Linked DNA regions of Homo sapiens: all the other regions are linked to region 1. The links are contacts of gene promoters, found by promoter capture Hi-C in human tissues and cell types (Jung and others, 2019). All regions are on one chromosome and are shown on one strand. The core of a region is centred on a gene start or on the middle of the fragment in contact, and the rest is flanking DNA. Distances in the headings are between cores, read along the strand shown.

Region 1 (2,700 bases), core at 178-2,677:
CTGGCCAACATGGTGAAACCCCGTTCTACTAAAAATACAAAAATTAGCTGGGCATGCTGGTGCATGCCTGTAATCCCAGCTACTCGGGAGGCTGAGGCAGGAGAATCGCTTGAACCCAGGAGGCGGAGGTTGCAATGAACCGAGATCGCGCCACTGTACTCCAGCCTGGGCGACAGAGCAAGACTGTCTCAAAAAAAAAAAAAAAAAAAAAGTCAAGCTGGTGCAGGGAGGGTGAAGCTTAGGACAGCTGTCAGCTGGTCCAGCAATGTTTCCTCCTGGCCCAGGCCTGAGCCAGTGCTCTAAGCTCAGCCTCACTTGTCGCCTTTATCAGTGGCTTCTCTGCCTCCACCCACCTGATTGCTGGAGCTTCTCCAGCACACCCAACTGAGATAACACACCCAGTCCCTATGGCTCCAGGGCGGGGACTTTCGCTTGACCTACTGCCCACCGGGCAGGCATTTCTTCTCATTCTCTGAACGCTGTCGGGAGGTAGGCAGGAGACCTGAGTCTTTCCTGAGGTGGTCTTTTCTGGCTGAGCACTTCTCTCTGGGACTCCCCACCTCTGTCATAGGGTTGTGTCCCTCTGTGACACCGGCGTCTGAGTCTAACGTCCCAGCCTTCCTTCCTCCCTCTGCCTAGTCTAATAGCACCCAGCACCTAAAACAAGCCAGAGGGCGGCCAGGGGCCTAGGCTAGCCCCCGGAGGGTCTACTCAGGACTCAAGTGCCAGGAGGGAGGCCTGGACTTTTTTGCCTTAAGGGCTGGAGACCCAGGAAAAGTTCGAAGAGGAAACGCTCATCGCAGCTATACGAGCGTCCACCCTGGACCAGGCGGCGAGTGGGTTGGAGGAGCAAGGCTGGACAGGAAGGGGGCAGGGGCTGCCACGGCAGGCTCGGGAGAGCCCCACCCCCAGATCTCCCTCCGGGCGGCGGCGCAGGCTGCAGCGGAGGAAGCATTTCCTCATTCCAGAGGCTGCGACTCATGGACGTCGGGATCGGCGCCCGCCCCCAGCAGCTCCCCGTCTGGGGACACGGAGGCCCGGGAAGGGGGCGCTTTTCCAGGCTCCTGCAGCCAGGCCTTTCCCCGTGGCCCTCCCCGCCCTGCGCACGCAGTCTGGGCTCTGTCCAGGGTCTCGGGAGGCTCTCGGGTCCCGGCCATCCCTGTTTCGTGGCTGGGGGAACTGCGGCCCGCTCCGGCAAAGCGGGGACCCGAGCCCTTGCCGCCGGTTCGCAGGAGCCCCGGGTTCGATGCTCTGTCAACCTGCTTGGGGTGTCCGTTTCCCGCTCTGCGAGGTGGGGTCAGGCCAAGACGAGGAGGAGCCCGCGCAAGCGCACTCACCACCACGGCGGTGACCGGCTGGCCCGGGATGTAGGACATCTCGACCCTGCTCTGGTCGCCCAGCGCCGCTCCGAGAAGCCGGCAGCAGAGTACCCGCGGTCGCGCCCTCGCTGCTTAACAAAGGCCGCCCCGCTCGGCCCGCCCCCTCATGAATAGTTAACAAACCTCCAGCCAATCACTGGCCGGAGCGCCACTCCGCTTTCGGAAGTCCCTGCGCGTGCGCAGAAAAGCGGGCAGAGGGCGGAGCGTGTCCGGGGCGCCCACGGCGCAGGCGCGGAGGGCGGGGCGGGATCTGGGCGCGTGCGCAGCCCGAGACCTCCCGGCAGTCTTCCGAGCAAGATGGCGCCGCGGGCATTTCTTCCACTGCCCGTCTGAGGGAACGCTAAGTAGTGTGTCCGGCGCCGTGTTCCAGGTAACTGGGCCACCGTGGCCGGGGAACGCAGACGCGCCACCACCTCCCGGCCGGCCCGGACCCTCAATCTCCTCGGCGTCTTTGGAAGATCCGAGGCCCAGGACTGGTGCCAGGTCTCGGAAGCTCCAGGGGGAGGGGGCGGCGTGAACCCAACTCACCGAGCTCCGGGCGCCACTTGTAACTTGGTTTTCTCCGCAGCTCCGCGTTGTTCCGCGAGAAAGCGAGAGGCCGAGCCCGGGCTGGTGCGATGGCCGCGGTGGTGGCCAAGCGGGAAGGGCCGCCGTTCATCAGCGAGGCGGCCGTGCGGGGCAACGCCGCCGTCCTGGATTATTGCCGGACCTCGGTGTCAGCGCTGTCGGGGGCCACGGCCGGCATCCTCGGCCTCACCGGCCTCTACGGCTTCATCTTCTACCTGCTCGCCTCCGTCCTGCTCTCCCTGCTCCTCATTCTCAAGGCGGGAAGGAGGTGGAACAAATATTTCAAATCACGGAGACCTCTCTTTACAGGAGGCCTCATCGGGGGCCTCTTCACCTACGTCCTGTTCTGGACGTTCCTCTACGGCATGGTGCACGTCTACTGAAATGGGGGCCCGGGGGACTTTTTTAAAAAACCAGATCGGGAGGACTGTGGCCAGCAATTAACACCATGTAGACTTCCTTAGTTCTTAAGTGGTTGAATTCGCTGCTTGTTCTGTAACGTTATAAATAATTTATATCTGAAGACGGAGAGCCTGTAATATTCTTCAGATTAAATGAAGCGTGAGACACTTTGTGGAGTTCTTTCCTGCTGTAACGCTTAGGCTGCCACTGATGCAAAATCGCCGAGATTTGACTCCTGGAGAGCAAGGAATGGGCCATAGCCTTGTGTTAAGTCCTTGTATTTACACATAGGCCATTCAGAAACGGGCCCTAAGGGCCTACATAAGGAAAGAACTTATTAACATCCTAAGAA
Region 2 (2,700 bases), core at 182-2,681, 580 kb before region 1:
TCCTTGGTATAAAAGCTCCTTGATCATGGTGGATTATCTTTTTGACAAGCCATTAGATTGTTAGCTAGTATTTTGTTGAGGATTTTTGCACCTATGTTTATCAGAGATATTAGTCTGTAGTTTTCTTTTTTTGTGATGTCCTTTCCTTGTTTTGGTATTAGAGTGATACTGGCTTCATAGAATGATTTAGGGAGAATTCCCTCTTTCTCTATCCTGTGTAATAGTGTCAATAGGATTGGTACCAATTCAACTGTGAATCTGTCTGGTCCTGGACTTTATTTTGTTGTCATTTTTTTCATTATCATTTCAATATCGCTGCTTATTGGTCTGTTCAGAGTTTCTATATCTTCCTAGTTTAATCTAGGGGGGTTGTACATTTTCAGGAATTTATCCATCTCCTGTAGGTTTTTCAGCTTGTGTGCATGAAGGTATTCATAGTAGCCTTGAATAATGTTTTGTATTTCTGTGGTATCAGTTGTAATATCTCCCACGTTTTTCTAATTGAGCTTATTTGAATTTTCTCTTATTTTCTTTGTTAATCTTGCCAATGGTCTATCAGTTTTTTTTTACCTTGTCAAAGAACCAGCTTCTTGTTTCATTTATGATTTTTATTTTTATTTTTCAATTTCCTTCAGTTCTCCTCTGATCTTTGTTATTTCTCTTTGTCTGCTGGGTTTGGGTTTGGTTTGTTCTTGTTTCTCTAGTTCCGTGAGGTGTGACCTTAGGTTGTCTATTTGTGCTCTTTTAGAATTCTTAATGTAATAATACTGTGAACTTTTCTCTTAGTACTACTTTTGCTGTATTCCAGAGATTTTGATAGGTTGTGTCCCTATTATCATTCATTTCAAAGAATTTTTAAGTTTTCCTGTTGATTTTGTTGTTGACCCAACAATCATTCAGGAGCAGGTTATTTAATTTCCATGTATTTGGATGGTTTTGTGGGTTCCTTTAGGAGTTGATTTCCAATTTTATTCCAGTGTGGTCTGAGAGAGTACTTGATATAATTTCAATTTTCTTAAATTGATTGAGACTTGTTTTGTGGCCCATGATATGGTCTATCTTTGAGAATGTTTCGTGTGCTGATAAGTAGAATGCATATTCTGCAATTGTTGGGTAGAATGTTCTATAAATATCTGTTAAGTTCATTTGTTCTAGGATATAGTTTAAGTCCATTGTTTCTTTGTTGACTTTCTGTCTTGATGATATGTCTAGTGCTAACAGTGGAGTATGGAATCCCCCACTATTATTGTGCTGTTGTCTATCTCATTTCTTAGGTCTAGTAGTAAATGTTTTATAAATTTGGCAGCTCCAGTGTTAGGTGCATATATATTTAGGATTGTGATGTTTTCCTTTTGTACTAGTCCTGTTATCATTATGTAGTGTCCGTCTTTGTCTTTTTTAACTGTTGTGGGTTTAATGTCTGTTTCGTCTAAGAATAGCTACTCCTGCTTGCTTTGGTGACCATTTGTATGGAATATCTTTTTCTACCTCTTTGCCTTAAGTTTATGTGAGTCCTTATGTGTTAGCTGAGTCTCTTGGGGATGGCAGGTACTAGGTTGGTGAATTCTTATCCATTCTACCATTCTGTATCTTTTAAGTGGAGTGTTTAGGCCATTTACATTCAACATTACTATTGAGATATGAGCTACTATTCTATTTGTCATGCTAATTGATGGCCTGAAGAGCTTGTTTTATTTTTCCATTTTGTTATTGTTTTATAGGTCCTGTGAGATTCATGCCTGAAGGAGGTTCTATTTTGGTGTATGTCAAGGGTTTGATTCAAGATTTAGAGCTCCTTTTACAAGTTCTTGTAGTGCTGGCTTGGTAGTGCCGAATTCTCTCAGCATTTGTTTGTCTGAAAAAGACTATCTCTCCTTCATTTATGAAGCTTAGTTTCATGGGATACAAAATTCTTGGCTGGTAATTGTTTTGTTTAAGGAGGCTAAAGATAGGACCCTAATCCCTTCTAGCTTGTAGGGTTTCTGCTGAGAAATCTGCCATTAACCTGATAGGTTTTTCTTTATACGTTACCTGATGCTTTTGCCTCACAGCTCTTAAGATTCTTCCCTTCATCTTGACTTTGGATAACCTGATGTCTATGTGCCTAGGTGATGATCTTTTTGTGATGAATTTCCCAGTTGTTCTTTCAGCTTCTTGCATTTGGATGTCTAAATGTCTCACAAGGCCAGGGAAGCTTTCCTCAATTATTCCCTCAAATATGTTTTCAAAACTTTCAGATTCCTCTTCTTCCTTGGGAACACCAGTCATTCTTAGGTTTGGCCATTTTACATAATCACAATCTTCTTGGAGGCTTTGTTCATTTTTTAAAATTCTGTTTTCTTTGTCTTTGATGGGTTGGGCTTTTGAAAGCCTTGTCTTTGAACTCTGAAGTTCTTTCTGCTACTTGTTTGTTTCTATTGCTGGGACTTTCCAGTGCATTTTACATCTCTCTAAATATGTCTTTCATTTCCAGAAGTTGTGATTGTTTTTTATTTATGCTATCTATTTCACTGAAGATTTTTGCTTTCATATCCTTCATATCCTGTATCTTTTTTAGCAGGAAGAGCTGCAGACCAAACTCCTCAGACACCAAGTTAAAGAAGGAAGGGGTTTATTTGGCCAGGAGCATCGGCAAGACTCCTGTCTCAAGAGCTGAGCTCCCCCAGTGAGCAATTCCTGTCCCTTTTAAGGGCTCACAAC
Region 3 (2,700 bases), core at 36-2,535, 660 kb before region 1:
CAAAAAAAAAAAAAAAAAAAAAAAAGAAAAGTTGAGCTGCAGTTGGGGAGCCAACATAATGTTGTATTTTGTAGACATTTAATGAAGCACTTGTTTTGAGTTTTGCAGGTTTCTTGTAGTATTTTGGAGTTAATTGGTTTTTCAGGTTTCAAGTATTTCTATATCCTGGAGATGCTTGTAGGCTGTGGACACTCTGCCCATGGTGCCCAATGGAGGAGGTGGTCCAGCAGCTAAATACAGGTGGCAGGTATAAAGAGAGTGGCCTGAGGCCGCTCTGTCCAGTCCCCCGCCTCTGGCAGGAGTCGCAGTTGATCTGTGCTTGACTCGAGGGGGTCTGACGTATTCCTAGAGGGGCTTACAAGAGAGGAAACACTTTAAGACTTTATCACGACTCATCTTTGATCCAGTGATCCAGGGAATTCTTTTCAATACTAAAACCCTGCAACTGTAGGTTGAAGACAGGCCTGCTTCCAGATTCTGCTCTCACACCTACCTGAGGTAGCACCGTGGGGCGTGGGAGAGACTGTGACAGTCACACAGAGTAAGCTTCAGGGCCCTGACGGTTGTGACCAGATTTTTTTTAAATTTTTTTATTTTTTAATTTTTTTTGAGGCAGGGTCTTGCTTTGTCACCCAGGCTGGAGTGCAGTGGTGCAATCTTGGCTCACTGCAACCTCTGCCTCCCGGGTTCAAGTGATTATCCTACCTCAGCCTCCTGAGTAGCTAGAATTATAGGTGCCCGCCACCACGCCCGGCTAACTTTTTGTATTTTTAGTAGAGACGAGGTTTCACCATGTTGGCCAGGCTGGTCTCGAACTCCTGACCTCAGGTGATCCGCCCACCTCAGCCTCACAAAGTGCTGGGATTACAGGTGTGAGCCACCGCGCCCGGCCATTTGTGACCAGCTTTTTTCCCTCCCACCTGGGGAGCACGAGCTCCTGTTCCCTGTCCCTTTCGTCATTGCCCTCACATCTCCCAAGCATGGAGGCCTGAGCTGGGGACAGGCCAGGCTCAGCCGAATGGAGCCCTGGGGCCTGGGGTGGATTCTGGTGTTTAGGCCATGCCTGTGGCCAGGCCTGTGTGTCTGGCCCAGCTCAGGAAACCATCCCTAGTTTTGGTATTTTTTTTTCCTGGGCACCTTGGGCGGTGCTGCTGTGTCAACAGGACGTTGCTTAGGGAGTTCACCCACACCTTCCTGGGATCGCTCTTGAAACAAGTGATACCTGAAATGTTCCAGGAAGAAAAGTTACAGGCCTTTATCTCTTCCTGTCAAAGTTTTTTTTTTTTTTTTTTTTTGAGATGGAGTTTTGCTCTTGTTGCCCAGGCTCAGGCTGGAGTGCAGTGGTGCGACCTCGGCTCACTGCAACCTCTGCCTCCCGGGCTCAAGCGATTCTCCTGCCTCAGCCTCCCGAGTAGCTGGGATTACAGGTGCCCGCCACCACACATGGCTAAATTTTTTGTATTTTTAGTAGGGACACCATCTTGGTCAGGCTGATCTTGAACTCCTGACATCAGGTGATCCGCCCATCTTGGCCTCCCAAAGTGCTGGGATTACAGGCGTGAGGCACTGCGCCCGGCCTCCTTCCTGTCAAAGTTCTCATTTCCCAGGCTGATGGGAGCATAACTGAGAATCCCCAGGGCTGAAAGCCATCTCAGCCATCCATCCTTGCCCCTGGTGAGGCTGCTGCTCCCCCACGTCAGCACTGACCCTTGATCTTTCTCCTGAGCAGCAGGCCTGCCATTGCCCTGTGTTGTGCCGCCTGGCACCTCACCCCGCTTGGAGCAGTTCCTTACAGCTCACTTCTGTCCTCCCAGCTGTAATGGAAGCGTTTCTCCCATGAGACACAGAACAGTTGGCTTTTGGACATCTAGACCTACTTTTCAAGCTGAACTGCTTGGAGATAGTCTCAGGAATCTGCTGGTTCTACAAACACTTCTAAAGTTTGCATTTTCACTTAGATCTAAAAAAAAAAACCTTCCAATTATAAAGACTGAACGTTTGGCTGGGCGCGGTGGCTCACGTCTGTAATCCCAGCACTTTGGGAGGCCGAGGCAGGTGGATCACCTGAGGTCAGGAGTTCGAGACCAGCCTGGCCAACGTGGTGAAACCCTGTCTCTACTAAAAATACAAAAATCAGATGGGCGTGGTGGTGCACACCTGTAATCCCAGCTACTTGGGAGGCTGGGGCAGGAGAATTGCTCAAACCTGGGAGGTGGAGGTTGCAGTGAGCTGAGATTGCGCCACTGCACAGCAGATCCAGACTGTGTCTCAAAAAAAAAAAAAAAAAAAAAAAAAACAAACCTAAAGTTTGCAGTGATCACTCCAAATTAAGAGATGTTCCTATAGGGTAAATAGGTAAGGCCTGAAGTCAGCACTGCATACGCAGCCCATGGGGCCACTGGGGTTGGGGGTCTGTGAGCAGATTCTCGGGAGTCTTGCGAGAACAGCTTTCACGATGAAAGAGCTGTACGTTATGTTTGAACGATGCTGATCTCTAGACCATTTTCCAGTGCCATTCTCAGTTACTGCCAGCTGTTGATGAGGTTGTTATTGGTCCGTAATGCAATGAAAAGTGATGATACTTGCTGTACCGACGTCAGATGGACGTAGAGCACGTGCAGGCCACATTTTGAGAAATGCTGAGCTCACCCAGCCCTCCACTGACCTCATCGCACAGAGGTGGAGCAGAGGACCGGGGAG

What was found. Contacts are between HindIII fragments. The study calls those that stand out against the background at their distance.
Region 2: a contact is called between a fragment that was not itself captured here and the fragment with the promoter of TAX1BP3 in region 1, in 4 of the 25 tissues and cell types used here (dorsolateral prefrontal cortex, liver, mesendoderm cells and 1 more).
Region 3: a contact is called between a fragment that was not itself captured here and the fragment with the promoter of TAX1BP3 in region 1, in 1 of the 25 tissues and cell types used here (spleen).

Annotation. Positions count from the first base shown.
Region 1 is chr17:3,667,151-3,669,850 of GRCh38, forward strand. It overlaps TAX1BP3 (Tax1 binding protein 3), which reads right to left and starts at 1,428. Exons shown (of 4, transcript NM_014604.4): 1 at 1,338-1,428. The coding sequence starts at 1,376. EMC6 (ER membrane protein complex subunit 6) reads left to right here and starts at 1,662. Exons shown (of 2, transcript NM_031298.4): 1 at 1,662-1,749; 2 at 1,948-2,515. The coding sequence starts at 1,997. The coding sequence ends at 2,329. It overlaps P2RX5-TAX1BP3 (P2RX5-TAX1BP3 readthrough (NMD candidate)), which reads right to left. Exons shown (of 15, transcript NR_037928.1): 12 at 1,908-2,700. RefSeq lists enhancers at 222-753, 754-1,284, 1,817-2,347, 2,348-2,700 and a silencer at 1,376-1,715. The HindIII fragment of the contact is 19,427 bases long and covers 1-2,700 here.
Region 2 is chr17:3,085,878-3,088,577 of GRCh38, forward strand. It overlaps OR1D2 (olfactory receptor family 1 subfamily D member 2), which reads right to left. Exons shown (of 2, transcript NM_002548.3): 2 at 2,607-2,700. Among named protein-coding and RNA genes, the nearest start is that of OR1D2, 17 kb to the right of the region's middle. The HindIII fragment of the contact is 7,207 bases long and covers 1-2,700 here.
Region 3 is chr17:3,010,336-3,013,035 of GRCh38, forward strand. All of the region lies in intron 17 of RAP1GAP2 (RAP1 GTPase activating protein 2), which reads left to right. Among named protein-coding and RNA genes, the nearest start is that of RAP1GAP2-AS1, 46 kb to the left of the region's middle. RefSeq lists an enhancer at 444-945. The HindIII fragment of the contact is 3,054 bases long and covers 1-2,700 here.